Regions from separate parts of the Homo sapiens genome. Here all the other regions are linked to region 1. The links are contacts of gene promoters, found by promoter capture Hi-C in human tissues and cell types (Jung and others, 2019). All regions are on one chromosome and are shown on one strand. The core of a region is centred on a gene start or on the middle of the fragment in contact, and the rest is flanking DNA. Distances in the headings are between cores, read along the strand shown. Region 1 holds the start of PDGFC (platelet derived growth factor C). Region 2 has its middle 110 kb from the start of LINC02272. Region 3 has its middle 5.0 kb from the start of LINC02272.

Evidence for each region. The method cuts DNA at HindIII sites, captures the fragments that hold promoters and counts their contacts. A contact is called where the count stands out against the background at its distance.
Region 2: a fragment that was not itself captured here is called in contact with the fragment with the promoter of PDGFC in region 1 in 1 of the 25 tissues and cell types used here (dorsolateral prefrontal cortex).
Region 3: a contact is called between a fragment that was not itself captured here and the fragment with the promoter of PDGFC in region 1, in 1 of the 25 tissues and cell types used here (heart right ventricle).

The regions. Positions count from the first base shown.
Region 1 is chr4:156,969,353-156,974,412 of GRCh38, reverse strand. It overlaps PDGFC (platelet derived growth factor C), which reads left to right and starts at 2,614. Exons shown (of 6, transcript NM_016205.3): 1 at 2,614-3,627. The coding sequence starts at 3,510. RefSeq lists an enhancer at 2,327-2,827. The HindIII fragment of the contact is 11,394 bases long and covers 1-5,060 here.
Region 2 is chr4:156,527,610-156,532,669 of GRCh38, reverse strand. No RefSeq gene overlaps it. Among named protein-coding and RNA genes, the nearest start is that of LINC02272, 110 kb to the left of the region's middle. The HindIII fragment of the contact is 4,616 bases long and covers 586-5,060 here.
Region 3 is chr4:156,644,941-156,650,000 of GRCh38, reverse strand. No RefSeq gene overlaps it. Among named protein-coding and RNA genes, the nearest start is that of LINC02272, 5.0 kb to the right of the region's middle. The HindIII fragment of the contact is 3,791 bases long and covers 856-4,646 here.

The DNA.
Region 1 (5,060 bases), core at 1,365-3,864:
ATCAAGGAAAATGCCTTTGGCCAAAACAAAGCCATATTCATTTAAAATATATTGTTTAGTAATTGCACAGACTCTGGATTATATAAAATTTACTTTCAATGCAAAGATTTCATTTTTCTAGAAAAGGTTAACAAGCAAAATAGAGCAGGAAGACAGGCAGAGGATAATGTGTTAAAAGAATCAACTACGTCAAGGGCAAGAGCAGTTCAAGAAATGACAATGCAAGTACATTGAAAGGAAATTGGCCAATGTGGATGTGATTTTGTCTAGGGGTCATTCAGGAACACCTGGCTGACTTTATTTATAAGGCGATTGTCAAATCAATCTGTAGAATATGGATGAGGTGAAACGCAGAGGTAGAGTATTATTCTAGATCATCTGTAACTTTTCAAATACAACTATCGCACTGAAATTCCAGGGAGAATGTAAGTGACTCCAATAAAGAAACCTGTCAGTCAGTCAAGAGTGTTTATTTATTATCCCCCTGTGCCAAGCAATATTCTAGCCAATATGAAATGATACAAAATAAAGAGTAGTCATCACCCTTCCAATCTCCTGAGAGCAAATGGATTACATTTGCAGACACACACACACACACACACACACACACACACACACACACCCCACCTCTATGTGGGTGGTCAGGAAACTCAACTATATGGACATATAACAATTTCATTTAGAAAAGTGCTGATTAGAAAACTAAACTTACAAAATTAGAAAAACTGGAGAATAATGAATTTTATGAAAAATAGATTACAATGGATTCATAAGGCATGCCCTTTATTTAAGTCCCATTATGTTATTAAAATTGGGAATAACCCTTCACCCTCACAAATTTACAAAATATTTTTGGAACACATTATGCAAATATGGAGTCACACTGGTGTTGTGGAGCTGCTAACTCGAATAAAATACCATACTTGATAAAAAACCTTCTGTCCACTAAACTGTAAATGCCTTAAAGTCAAAGATCAGGCCTTATTTGCCTTTAGTGTATATTTAGTACTCTGTAGATAGAAGTGGTAAAGGGATAAGAATGAATGAATGAGACAGGCGGGTGAAATTTTCAAGAATGAGACAGATGGGTGAAGTTTTCAAAGGTTTCTAAAAGGGAAAAACAAGAAGACTAGGATATTCCAAGCAGAAAGGTCTGGTTGGTTGGCCCCAGTTGGTGTTCGCATATAAGAAGAGGGCTTGGCATTTTCCTCACCACTGAAGAAGGATCAGCCCCTGGTTTGGTCCAGTAAGAATATGTTCTTGCCCAAATGCCACTCCTTAGTTTCAGGGACATTGCTATTTTGGTTTTCTGTTCCAGCCCAAGTGTTCTTGATGGTCGAATTGTTTGCATTGACTTTTTTTCCACAAGAAGTTGGGTGATATTGCTGATTTGCCTGCCATGGCACTTCCTTGTTTTCATTTTGATTATTACTCAAAAATAGCTTCATTTTAAAATTCAACTTTTCTGACTCTCTGCTTGTGCCTTTAACACATTGACAATGATTTTCTGCTTCTCCACAAAGAAAGCACGTTGGATCCTGTCACAGACATATTTAGCAGACATGGAACCACCATAAGCCCTGCTTGGCATGTGTGTTTCATTTCAGACTACCTCATGAGAACTTTAGGTCTTAAAGCATCGGCCTCTCTCTCCAAGTCAGCCTGAACACAAGCCACAAGAGATTTCAGTTCTTTCTCGACCTTTTTGGTGTAAATGTAAACAATTCTATCACCAGGGGTTCAGGGCAGCCTAGTTTTGTTAGAGGCTGTATTGTAGGAAAGTCCAAGGTTGCAGGATCATTCTGAGTCCCTTAGACACCATTCTCAGAAGAGCTTGCTATTAGCTTAATGCTGCCCAACTACTACGTATGCTTCACGAGGGCAGGGACTTTTGTCTGTTTTCACTGCTACGGCTCCAACCTCTAAACAGTGCCCGACATAGTAGGCATTCAGTAAATATAGTACTTGTTAAATGGATGTTATTTTGGCTGCCTTTACTTTTGCTTTATTTGTCCTGCTTTACGGAGCTGGAAATTGGAGGAAAGCCTTTGAATTCATTTCCCTTCTTCCTTCTGTTCTGAAACTCTGGCCAAGGGTCCTAGCAAAGACCTTAGGGAGTGGGGAGCCCTCCTGGAAACTAATGACAAGTCAGGCGACAGGGGGCGGGAGAAGGAGAGCTGCAGGAAGTTCTTTCCCACTTACTTCTGCAGCACCCTTCACCACCCATCGTGCTCTGTATTTGGGGTTAGAGGTGTTCCGTGGAAGGGAAAGCAGGGGCCGCCTTGGCCGCGTTCCTCTCCTGGGCCACCGGGGTCTTGCCCACAGCGAGTCCCGCAGCACCCCCTGTCTGCGCAGCACCTGTTGACAGCCAGTGGGCGGCCAAGCCCGCTCGCGCGGACGCGTCCCAGGGCTGCCCCTCCCAGAGGCGCTGACCCCCGCCCGCCCCATCGGCCGCCTGCGGGAGAGCCGCTGAGCCGCCCCCGCTCGCCAGGCGCGCGCTCCGCCCGGGCTCGGCCCACGGCCCCCACCTCCTGTCTGCCGCCCGGCGGGGGGAAGGTAGAGAAGGGGAGGGGACAAGCCGGATCCTCCCGGCCGCCCCGGCCTTCCCTCTTCACCCCGTGCGGAGACGCCGCGCGTAGCCCCGAGGTTAGCGCGGAGCCCGAGGCGTGGGGGGAGGGGACGGGGAACAACCGGAGCCCCGCGGTGACCCCGAGCGGCCGAATTGCCCCAGGCTTTGAGGAGCGGGGGACGAGCCCGAACAAGGTGAACTTTGGTCGCGGAAAACTCAAGCCAGGTGCCGGAATCCGTGCTGCGGCGCTCCGAACCCGGGGCCAACTGCGCTCCGGGCTGAGGAGCGGGAGCCCCGCGGCCTCTCTCCGCCTGCGCCCGGGCCGCCGTCGGCCCGGAGCCCCCCGGCCCCGCTCCGGCGCCCCGGCCCGTGGGACCCGCCGCGGCGCCCTCGCCTTGTTTCTTCCCCCTCCCCCTTCGGGGGTGGGGGGTGGGGCGGGGGAGAGGGGCGCCCGGAGAGCCGCATCTATTGGCAGCTTTGTTATTGATCAGAAACTGCTCGCCGCCGACTTGGCTTCCAGTCTGGCTGCGGGCAACCCTTGAGTTTTCGCCTCTGTCCTGTCCCCCGAACTGACAGGTGCTCCCAGCAACTTGCTGGGGACTTCTCGCCGCTCCCCCGCGTCCCCACCCCCTCATTCCTCCCTCGCCTTCACCCCCACCCCCACCACTTCGCCACAGCTCAGGATTTGTTTAAACCTTGGGAAACTGGTTCAGGTCCAGGTTTTGCTTTGATCCTTTTCAAAAACTGGAGACACAGAAGAGGGCTCTAGGAAAAAGTTTTGGATGGGATTATGTGGAAACTACCCTGCGATTCTCTGCTGCCAGAGCAGGCTCGGCGCTTCCACCCCAGTGCAGCCTTCCCCTGGCGGTGGTGAAAGAGACTCGGGAGTCGCTGCTTCCAAAGTGCCCGCCGTGAGTGAGCTCTCACCCCAGTCAGCCAAATGAGCCTCTTCGGGCTTCTCCTGCTGACATCTGCCCTGGCCGGCCAGAGACAGGGGACTCAGGCGGAATCCAACCTGAGTAGTAAATTCCAGTTTTCCAGCAACAAGGAACAGAACGGTGAGTCTTTCCCCCATTCTCCCCCTGCTTGTTTCTCGCTGTGTGTGTTAACGTTGGCATTGTGCGTTGGTATGTGATATATACCAGACTGTGAAGGTATCTTTGGTCTCTCATTACATGCAAATGTGCGCTGCGTTCATTGGCATGGACTGTTAAAGGTTAAGTGTAGTTTGCAACTTCGGGAGCTGCCACAAAGCTCCAAGAGGGCAACGTGAGTGCCACTGCTGAGTGAGGACATTCTGGGAGCGATTGTGAACGTCATTTCAAATGCACATTGCAGGTTCGCTCATTGCTAAAGTTAGAAGTTCAAGAACTGCCTCTAAAAACGAATCCAAAATGAATGAGCCTTGGCATGTTTGACTTTACTCAGATTTGGGGAGGGCGAGGGGGGTCGGTCAGGAAATATATCAGCCGCATTAATTGAAGCACTCTAGGTCGAAGTCATCAATTAATCAATGAGTAGATAGGAAATATAGAGGTCAAGAGGCTGTGTGGTCGTTTTTAGAGGAATTAAAAAGTGTATTTCTCTTGCTCCCTAGTTTTTGTTTTTTAAACTTGCCTTTGTACTCTGAAGTCCTTACCTTTCTGGTGGTGTGTTTTTGTATGTGTTGGTGAATGACTGCTATTTTGTGTGTGCTGGAAACGACTTAATCCTGCATAGGAAATGAGAATTACTTTCAGCTTTCAAGTGTACCTGAAATGTTTAGAAAACTCTCAGATGCAAGTTCCCTTGGGCTGGGATTGCACAGAGCTGGAGAAAGGCTCCTTTCATAAAGCCAGGGCAGCTTCAGGGTGTGTAATTTGCTTAGCCTCTGAACCCATATGATTTACATCATTCAATTTCTAAACTCTTTTTCTCTTCATCTACCATTATGAAGTCATTTTTGAGAATACTTTGTAAATAGAAATTTTATACTGCACATGAAACCACAATGTTCATGTTAGGCTGTCTAAAATTGGAATATTTAACGCCCTGTTTACAAATGGTGGCTCTTACTGTAATTTGAAAAGGAATATACATGTTTTTACTGCTTTGTATATCATCTATTCAGAATGCAAGGATTCTGTCACTTGATTAACCATGCAAAATGAACACAAGTGGCATACCTACAAAATTAAGATAGGATGTGCTATAGTTTTAAGTCAGAGTGATTTTTTTTCCTTTTCATATTGGGGTGTTTCAAGACTTCAACTTTGAATTTAAACTCTATGAAGTGTTCATGTTTAAGAAAGCACAGAAAGTTTTAGGGTATAAAAGTAGATAAAATAAGGATTCTGCCGACTTTTGCAAACGTTATTTGTATTTGCTGTTGCGCAGCAAGACATAGTATCACATTTATCAGCTAATATTAGTGTGGTGCTTCTTACAACTTGCTAATGTGATGCCACATGGCACCTGCAGGCTCCTTGAGCTGCTGATCAAAGGGCAGCCT
Region 2 (5,060 bases), core at 1,644-4,143, 440 kb after region 1:
TTTGCTTTGTGCATATGTTCTTTATGTAATTATTTAATCCTTAGAATGGATGAAGTCACATATTACCAACATTAAAAAAATTAGCCATATAATATATTATGGTTATCCATTTAAATAAATGCTCCATGTATATGTATATCCATATATAACATGTCCTTAGAATCTATCATAATTATTCGTTCATATTATATGTTGTATCTAAATTAATTTGACTTCCCAAATCAGTTAATTGCTATGATCAAAATGCCCATGATAATTTAAATATTGATAATTACCATGATAATTTATCAGGTACTTATAAAGAATGCTATTAGATATGTTATAGTCAAGAGACTTTATTAAACAGGTTTTAAAATTTGGACTTGAAATTACTATACACATACACAATATGTTAATAGGTAATGAGACTATATATATAAGATCTAAAAATAATTTCTTCTTGACCTTTGAGTTACAAATGGTTTGATACTCTTACACTTTCCAAAGACAACATTTACACTTTAAATATTGATTGAACCATAATTTACAAAATCAGCATAAACAATTTTTGTCAATATTTACAAATATCCATTTCTCTTCTACTCCTTAAGTCACAGTAGTCTATATTTTATAGTCTTCCCTGTATCTAAATAGATCAATGTGATTAAGTTTTGGTCCATGTAACATGAGGAAAAGTGACATACTCCTGCATTTCCATGCCCAGACATGAAACATCCTATATAATCTCCCATGCTTTTTCTCTAGTTTGCTGGGTTCTTAAGCAAAGATCATCCTATGCAATTTGCCATGCTTTTTCTCTAGTTGATTGGGTTCTTAAGCAAAGAATCTAAGAAGTTGGAGATAGAAGGATATCAAATCTCTGATACACTGTTTGGAGAAGAGCCACCTACAAGAAACAGTGGATGAAGCTCATTGACTTTGGATTTTGTGCTAACGAGAAATAAACATTTCCCATACTAAACCACTGTAATTTTAGGGTTCTTTATTAGAACAGCTAGCATTGCTTATCCTGATTTAGACAGAATATCTCAGTAAATGAATTCAGTTTGTTACAGAAAAAGAGCTTTTATTTTAGCTTTTCTAAACTGAAGACCGTTAAATAATGTTTATCCCTAAAATAAGCCCAGAAATTATGGGAAAAAATAAAGTTAAACATATAGGGCTTCCTGGAATCTAATAACGTAAATTTTCAAGAAGATGGCCATGGAACACTTTGATATAAAGGCATCTTTATTAATATCTATCGGAACAACATCCTCCAAAAACCAGTTTTCAATAAGAAAATGGTGATAAAGAATTTTACTAGGCAAGTTTATTAAAAGCTTAACTGTTTTTAATGGAGCATAATATTTACTTATACTAAATATACTTTTCTGACACTATCTTGGAAATAAAAATTGTATTGAAAACATTTTTATCATGTTTTTAAATGATATACAATACTAAAATATGAAAAGATTCCTTTGAGTAAGTTGTATACAGTGCAGCCAGATGATAAAATTTAAAACAAACCAATAATACTAAGACCTAAAGAAGCACGTTATAATCCAGAAGTGGAATGAGCTGTCACAGCCGACAATATTCATGCAAAGAACATTCATATCTTCATGTATTCCTCACATTATCCAAGATGTTTTCAGTATTGTTTTAAACAATTTTATTTCTCAGTGATTAAAGAGAAGGTAGATAAAAATAACGTAACCATATTTTCTATTTTTAATTTTGTGATGTTTTTTCCTGAACTTTCCTTTGGACAGCAAGATAATACCATTTCTATACTCAACACTATGTCACTGAATGTGCCCCCTGCCACAGGCTGACACCTGCGTAAGAGAATAAAGAATCATTCAGCCAATTAAAAGAGACAATTCCCTCCATTCCAGTTATAGGCCATGTTCAGTTTTAATGAAAACAGCTAAGAAGTATACAAATTAATTCTGATATCTTCTTATCATAGACTGACTTTTGTCTAGAGGAGAAAAAAGTTTTACTCTGTAAACTTCCTCTAATGGGATAGTTCCTCAGTTGCAGATTCAGGGAAAAATACTATTTCAACTTAAAAATAACACTCTTCCCTCTTCCTTTTAAGATAACATATTTCTTCTCTGTATTTTATAGTCTTTTCCAAGGATTTTCTTTTTCTGTGAAGTTTTTTCAACTCTCATATCTTTGAATTCACAAGTTAAAACTAATTTGTAATTTAAATTGATAAGTCCTGAAAGTAAATACTCGCTAAACTTCGTAGTACTTTTCAGTGAGATAAGAACAGAAACCAATGATAGGGCTGAGGGAGAGAGAAATTGTAAGAATACTAACCACAGGTAGCTAACTTGTACAGATATCACACAATAATAATTTCAACATTAATTTCAACATTTCTTCTAATTTGAAGATTTGTGCATGTTGAATTAATCATGTCGATTTAATTATTAATTCAACGTGCACAAATTGTCAAATTACAAGAATAAATGTTTCAGATATACCAGTAAACACTGCAAAGAACACTGATGCAAAATCTATCTGCAGAACAAGGTCAGTTCAAAGTCTTATTATAATCAATGTTGCTATTTGTAGCTTAGCTCGATTGCAACTTGATGGTGAGATAGCAGTTTCTCATCATTTACACATTACACATCAAAAATTTACACATTTTCTGCATAGCTTGCTTTTTAAAAAGTCATATTGCATTGTAAATACTAAAACCAAAGACAGAAACCAAGGGCATGCTGTTGTCCTTAATCAATCACAGTTACTGTTAACCATTATAAATACCAATATTAATGTCCAATACTTTATTATGCTCCATCACAAACATTTTATTTTAAACCTGAGTAGACATTGTGCTAAAAAGTTAACAAGTGCAAGACAAGTAATAGAGGTAAAATTCTAATTCGAATTAGCAAAGGAATTTATTGACATTCAGTCTAGAAATTAAAACTTAGTTTAAAAAATGGTAGTTTAAAAACTTAGCTTAAAAATTGCATGATTAAGAGAGTTGATGACTTGAACTTCAACACTGATAAAGTTAGAGATTTTTAGAGTTGAAAATAAACTATTAGCACCCATCTCCTAGTTAGTAATTGAATCATTCTGTAATGTCTCCCCAAGTAGTCAGAGAGACTTCATCAATACCTGAAGGTTTCCTCCTGATATGGTTAGGGCTTGTTTCCCCACCCAAATCTCATCTTGAATTGTAATCCCCAGGTATTTATGGAGAGACCTGGGAAGTGATTGGATTATGGGGGTGGGTGCCCCCATGCTGTTATCATCATATTGAGTGAATTCTCATGAGATATGATGGTTTTATAAATGGTAGTTTTTCCTGCACTGACACAAACTTATTTTCTCGCGCATTCTGCCATAATTGTAAGTTTCTAAAGGGCTTCCCAGCCATGTGGAACCATGAGTCAATTAAACCTCTTTTCTTGATAAATTACCCAGTGTTGTGTATGTCTTTAAAGCAGTGCACGAACAGACAAATACACCTCCATAGGGAAAATACATCTATCTATTTCATTGGGGGACAGCTACATTTGTTTAAAAATTTCTTTCTTTTGTTGAATCTAAATTTTGCCCTACTTTTTCAACATTTAATGATTCCCAGTTTGACTTCAGGAAAAACTGAGGAGGAATCTAATCCATCTGGATTAGCATGTCTGAAGACAGAGGTATGGTACACTGAAGTCTTCCATTCTCCAGATTAAATTGTCCCTTTCTTTAAAACAATTTATCTTATAACATGCCTTACTGTCTCAGGAAAACAACCATTCTCTTGTGTATGCTCTCCTGTTTGCAAAGCACTTTTCAAATGGATGATCTAGAATTTGATCCAACACTCCCAGTATAGTTTGACCCAGGCAATGTTTTATTTGGTGCTTCTCTGGTGCTACAGATGGAGCACTGTCTTCCTTGGGAGACACATTAAATAGAGGAATATTGAGCTTCCAATTATGTTAAACTGTACTATTAAGCCATCCATCTTTTTCTAATACTTATGAAGTTGAATTATTGGCTTGAAATGCAAAAATGTTAAATCTGTTAAATTTCATTTTCATTGATCTAGTCAATTGTGCCAGACCACTGATTCTTTTTGTCCATCTCTGACAACTAATAAAAGGGTTAGAAAACTATGGCCTGTGGGCCAAATCCAGTTCACTGCGTGTTCTGTAAACAAAGTTTCATTGTAACACAATCATGCTCATTTGTTTATAAACTGTCTATGGTTGCGTTTCTGCTGTAACAGGGAAGTACTTATGACAAAGACTGTATGGCCCACAAAACTTAAGATATGTACTCTCTTGTCATTTACAGAAAAAGTTGTTTACAACTGAATTGGTATATCAGCTGTCTCTTCCTGTTTCCTGCAGATTTAGTGATAATTCATCTGTCTTCTCACGAAGACTGTGGATTACAAGGTCAGTCCACAAACTGGACATTCATAAATAATAATGAATTCATTAATTTGCATTAATTCATTTCACCTGATGTGATGGCAAATAATTAAACTGTCATCTAGCCCACATTTCCTGCTGTCATGAAGAAATACTTTCCTGAAACTCAGATATGCTTTCTGCTACTCCTAGGCACAACAGTTCAGTAATTTAAAACTGGAAATGGCTTAACTGAAATGACTTCTTAGTGAAGCCATGTTTGCTCTTAGAATTCATCAACTTCCTAAGTGCTTGTCTAGCCTATTTTTTCCCCAAAATATATTTCTCAGAAATAGTACTTGTAGAACTTGAATAAAGAGTTTCAAAGTCAAATAAGTTGATGAAATGCTACATTCTGCATTCGATATATTTTGTTGTGAGTTACAATGCACATTAGCATACTCAAAGGTCTGAGAAATTATACAGTAAATACACTGGTTTTAGATGATTTCAACACATTCTTTCCCCACATTACTTAACCATAGAGCCTCCCTTTCTTATTATTCGGAAACTTTGGTGGAAGAAACTTTAGAAAAATTTGTAAATTCCTATGAGGAAGAATTTTAACACAGCCTCAGATGCTGAAAAACTATTTCTTGTGGGCTTTTAGATATTTGTGGACAATAAGCA
Region 3 (5,060 bases), core at 1,502-4,001, 320 kb after region 1:
TGTCTGTGCTTTTGATGTCTATCCAAGAAGTAATTTCCAAGACCATCTCATAAAGCTACACTCCCACATGTTCTCTTCTAGGATTTTTACTATTTCAAATTTTATGTTTAAATCTTTAATACATGTTAACTTGGTTCCTGTGTGTGGTGTGAAATAAGGATTCACTTCTGTTCTTTGATGTGTATACACAGCTTTCTGAAAGCTTCTTATAGAAGAGGCTATCTTTTCCCCATTGTGTATTCTTGCCACCCTTGTGAGCAATCAGTTGATCACACATGCATAGGTTTATTTCTAGACTTTATTCTGTTCCATTAGTCCATATATCTATTTTATATCAGTACCATACTGGTTTCATTACTGTAGGTTTGTAATATGTTTTTAAATCAGAAAGTGTAATGCCTCTAGCCAATCTATCTCACTTTTAAAAACTTTGGACCTTTTAAAATATGAATCTTTTAAAGGCTTTTGCACTTGTTTTACATGAAATTCTTCTCAGTCTTTTTGAGTTTTTCTGCAAATGCCATACTTTTTGAACAATTATTCTGGCTGCTTGGTGACTTGCACAAGTATTTAGCCTACAGAATGAGCTTTCCTTTTCCCTGTTCTGCAATGTTTTCTAAGACCCTTTAGTTTTCTTTCTTTTTTTTTTAATTCTTATTTGAAATAGTAGAGATGTCTGCAGGTCTGGTGTTTCTTATAAACACGCCATGTTGACTGCCCCATCCTTAATTCACTGATATCATATAGATTTTTCTAGCACAACTAAATCAACTAAGTCATTGTACTATCTGATATTAGTATGCACAACTCCTAGCCCAATTCTGAATAAAATCTTATCTTTAGAATAAATATTAGATTGCAAAGCAATGGGATATATAAAAATTACATCCACTTCTTAAAAATTTATTGAGAATTTTCATACCATCTACAAATCTTAGCTTGGAGGGTTACATTTTCTAAAATGTCATAAAATCACTCCAATCTTTTTTTTAAACACATTGTATTCTCTTCCTGTTTACTTTCTTTCTTTAGGCTTTATTTTCCAAAAGAATGAAAGAAGTATGAGTGTGTGTGTGTTGAGGTGTTGGGGTGGAAGGTAGGATTAGATTTAGATTAAGAAAGAGGGTGCTTTGGATCAATTGAATGCACCATCTGTTAAGTAGTGGGGTAACTGGTTTTCTTGTTGGTATGTATCTTGCGCAGCTGACCCAGTGGACAGAGATGAAAAGGAAGTTACCAGGTCTTTCCATTTTTCTTTCAGTGGGCAGGTTCTCCACACTTAGACCATCAATTGTACTTTTTGATTTAATCCAATCTGCTTTGTTGTATATAGAATCTCTTCTGAATTGACTTTCCTAGTTTTCAGTTTGGGTTTTATCATTTTTCTGGCTTTCTTAGGCAGTGTGTAGGAAAGTTGTGTGAAATGGCCTTAGGGATAGCTATCCTGATATTTTCTAATTTGATGTTTTGTTTTATTATTTTAATTTGGAAAAGACACTTTTAACAAGCTTGACAACTTTGTTAATCATCCAAACTAGTAACAGGAAGGCCAATGAAAGGAGGTGTAGGGAGTTTGGCCGGGAGCAGACAGAGTGACAGTAATGAAAATTTTGATGTTACAGCAAGATAAATAATTATAAGTAGCAGTAGAAAATGTAAAAGCACATTGAAAATTATATCCAGAGATCTAAATAGGTTTTATAATCAATCTATCATTAACAATATTTTAAACTCTATTAAAAATTATTTCAAATGTGATAATGTGACTAACAGTTTGGTTATAGAAAGATAAACATTTGAAAATTCCTTTTTTAAGAAAATTAATTTTTAAAAAATGTTGTAGATACACAGTAGGTGTATCTATTTAAGGGGTACCTGAGATGTTTTGATACAGGCATGCAATGTGAAATAAGCACATCATGAAGAATGGGGTATCCATCCCCTTAAACATTTATCTTTTGAGTTACAAACAATCCAATTACATTCTTTAAGTTATTTCAAAATTTAATACTTCATGGGGCTTCATTTTATCATCTAAAATATTCACAAAAGAATATCCAATTCCTGTATATTTTTTACTGTATTAGATATTATCATGTATATGTGTATATACATGCACTATCCATGCACACACACACACACACACACACACATATATTTACATATATATATATACACATATTTGCCTTTGACTATTTCTTGTTGCACTTTAATTTAGAAGTGAATATGACTGGTATTAAGATCCATGAGTATAGGTAAAAACATGACACCCCACAACAAAATGGGGAAACATATGATAGGGTTTGTATTTGATATTTTCCTCTACCATCTGGAAAGTATGCTGAAATTTTTCTTTTTGGGATTTCCAGACAGTCTGACTAGTCTGACATCTTTGTTCAAAAAAGATAAAAAGTTCCCTTAAAGCTATGTGGAGCTGTCTCGGCAGTTGCTGTAGTTTCCATCCACCTACTTTTTTGCTTCGTTGTTTAAGGCTATGTCCCAGTGACTCTGAAAGTTATAACCTGCCTTATTTCAACTTGCTTAACAAAAGCTTTCAGGGCATCTTGCTTTCATCTACACCATGCACATGGTCACATTTTTTAATGGAAATTCCAGGGCTGAACACTGCCATGGCATTCTTTTACCTCAGTACTTGGACGGCAATGCAGAGAATGGAATACCAAGGTTACAACATAATTGTGGAAAGCTTCATACAGAGTTTTGAACCGATGTCTATGAACCAATGTGATATCAACATCCAGATCAAAGTCTGTCTTAAGTCTCACATGGTCTGAAGAGATTTTCCACCAAGTACAATGAAAATCCATAATGGGAAGAATATATTTTTGTATTTGCAAGTTGTGTGTGTGTGTGAGAGAGAGACTTCATATATATGCATCTGTGTGTATGTTTGAAGTGAGAGAGGAAGGGAAAGGGAGACAGAGATAGAGAGAGATGTGTGCCTGGATGGACTGAGAAGTGTCACCACAGCTTTGAAATAATAATTGGACAATTTAACAGTACACAGAATTTGCAAAGCACTGAGAAGTTTTGGCATTTGATATTAATTGAAGTTACAAATATGATCATCTGTTCTGTTGAAATGTTTTAGCTATGTTGTCTCATAGTAAATTCTTAATACTGCATTCCAATGCTATGTAATGGTGGAACATCATTCTCAGCATCATTTGATGATGCTCCAGCTTTAAACTATTAATACTTTAGCCCGCAGCATCCTTGAATCCAAGCTCAACATATGTGCTTAACATACAAATTTATTGATGGGTAGTATTTATTTAAAAATTACAATCTAAGATCCTAAATATTTCATGCCAGATTTTATAGTTATTTAGAAAAAAATGGGCAAGATTTTACCTGATGTCAAATATCTAAAAGCTCTGACTCTTTGTCAGGAATTCATTATCTTTAGAGAAGAGGTAGGCTCCAAATGAATAAATATAGTCTAAACTATGTCAGGTTCAAAGAGGCTGTCAGAGTAGTTTTGTGTGAGGTAATTCCAAGATTCTGCCTAATTTATAACATAATAAGTAAAGATAATCTTTCACCAGGGGTATGAGATGGAAGTTGAAGAACTGTATTTTGGAAAAATAATATGTACCCTCCATATTTCTTTTCCTTTTTCCTTGATTTACTTCAACAATAATGATATGATGTATTTACTGAGAATGATTTTTTTATAGCAATGCTTTAGAAATGAACTGGAAACCAACTTCTCAGAAAATTTGTCCCTATGACTACAATGCAGATGAGAAGTATGTGTGTATTTTGGTTCTTTGACTCTTGATTCGTTTCTCAAGTGTTCTTTGAAAAGCGATAAATTCACTTATATTTTCAGAGAGCAGCAAACCTTGGAATTAAATCATCATGGAAATAAAATAAAAAGCAAAAGAAGATGAGCCATCCTTAAGGGGATTCTGGAAGGGTCCTTTGGTAAAATGATTTTTTCAATATCCCAGTGACATTACCAGCAATCTCACTCAATGGAAAATAATTGTAGTATCAAATTTTCTCAAGGAATGAAAACATCTCTAATATAGTGAACAGGTCATTCAGTCCACAGAGGTGGCATCGGAAAATGGCCCTTCTTTTCCTTTTGTGAGCTTCCCCTTTCCTAAATGGTAGTTTCTCAATCACAACACCTAGTTGCTTGCCACAGAAATGGAAATTGATCTCTGCTAACTAATCACTGATCCCATCTCACTGGCTTTGGTGATTGTCCAGTTTTGCCATATAATCCAGGCAGAGCCAATCAAGGCATTTTTGGGGGAAATTATATGTATACCAGGGGAGAAAGGATCTCCATTCCTCTGAGATTGCAAATACTAAGTATCACGTAAAGCTACAGCATTCCAGAGCTATTTTGATTGTTCATGGATGGAACGTGGCTAAAAATAAATGATTTGAGTGAAAAACAGAGGAGTGAGAGATTCTTAATGACATTCTTCACAATTCTGGATCTAGTTGTGACTAAAGGTTATACAATTACTTTGATTTCCTAATTAAAGCAGCCAATAAATTATCCTTTTGCTTAAAAAGAAAACACTGGTTTTTCCACTTAAAAAGAAACCACTGTTTACCAATATAGATATTTTATTCCAAATTTCTAGCTACATGCTGGCTCAGATTCAAAGAGTATAGATTATTGGAAAGATAAAAAGAATCAGAGGGAGTTTATTTTGGAGCATACATTATTGTCAGGGAGCATATTTCTAAGAGGTCATTGAATTGGGAAGATTTAAAGAGACCAGGGTAAGGCCGGGCGGGGTGGCTCATGCCTGTAATCCTAGCACTTTGGGAGGCCGAGGTGGGCAGATCACGAGGTCAGGAGATTGAGACCATCCTGGCTGAAATGGTGAAACCCCCTCTCTACTAAAAATACAAAAAAAAAAAAAGAAAAAATTTAGCCAGGCGTGGTGGCGGGCGCCTGTAGTCCCAGCTACTCTGGAGGCTGAGACAGGAGAACGGTGGGAACCCCGGAGGCGGAGCTTGCAGTGAGCCTAGATCGCGCCACTGCACTCCAGCCTAGGCGACAGAGCGAG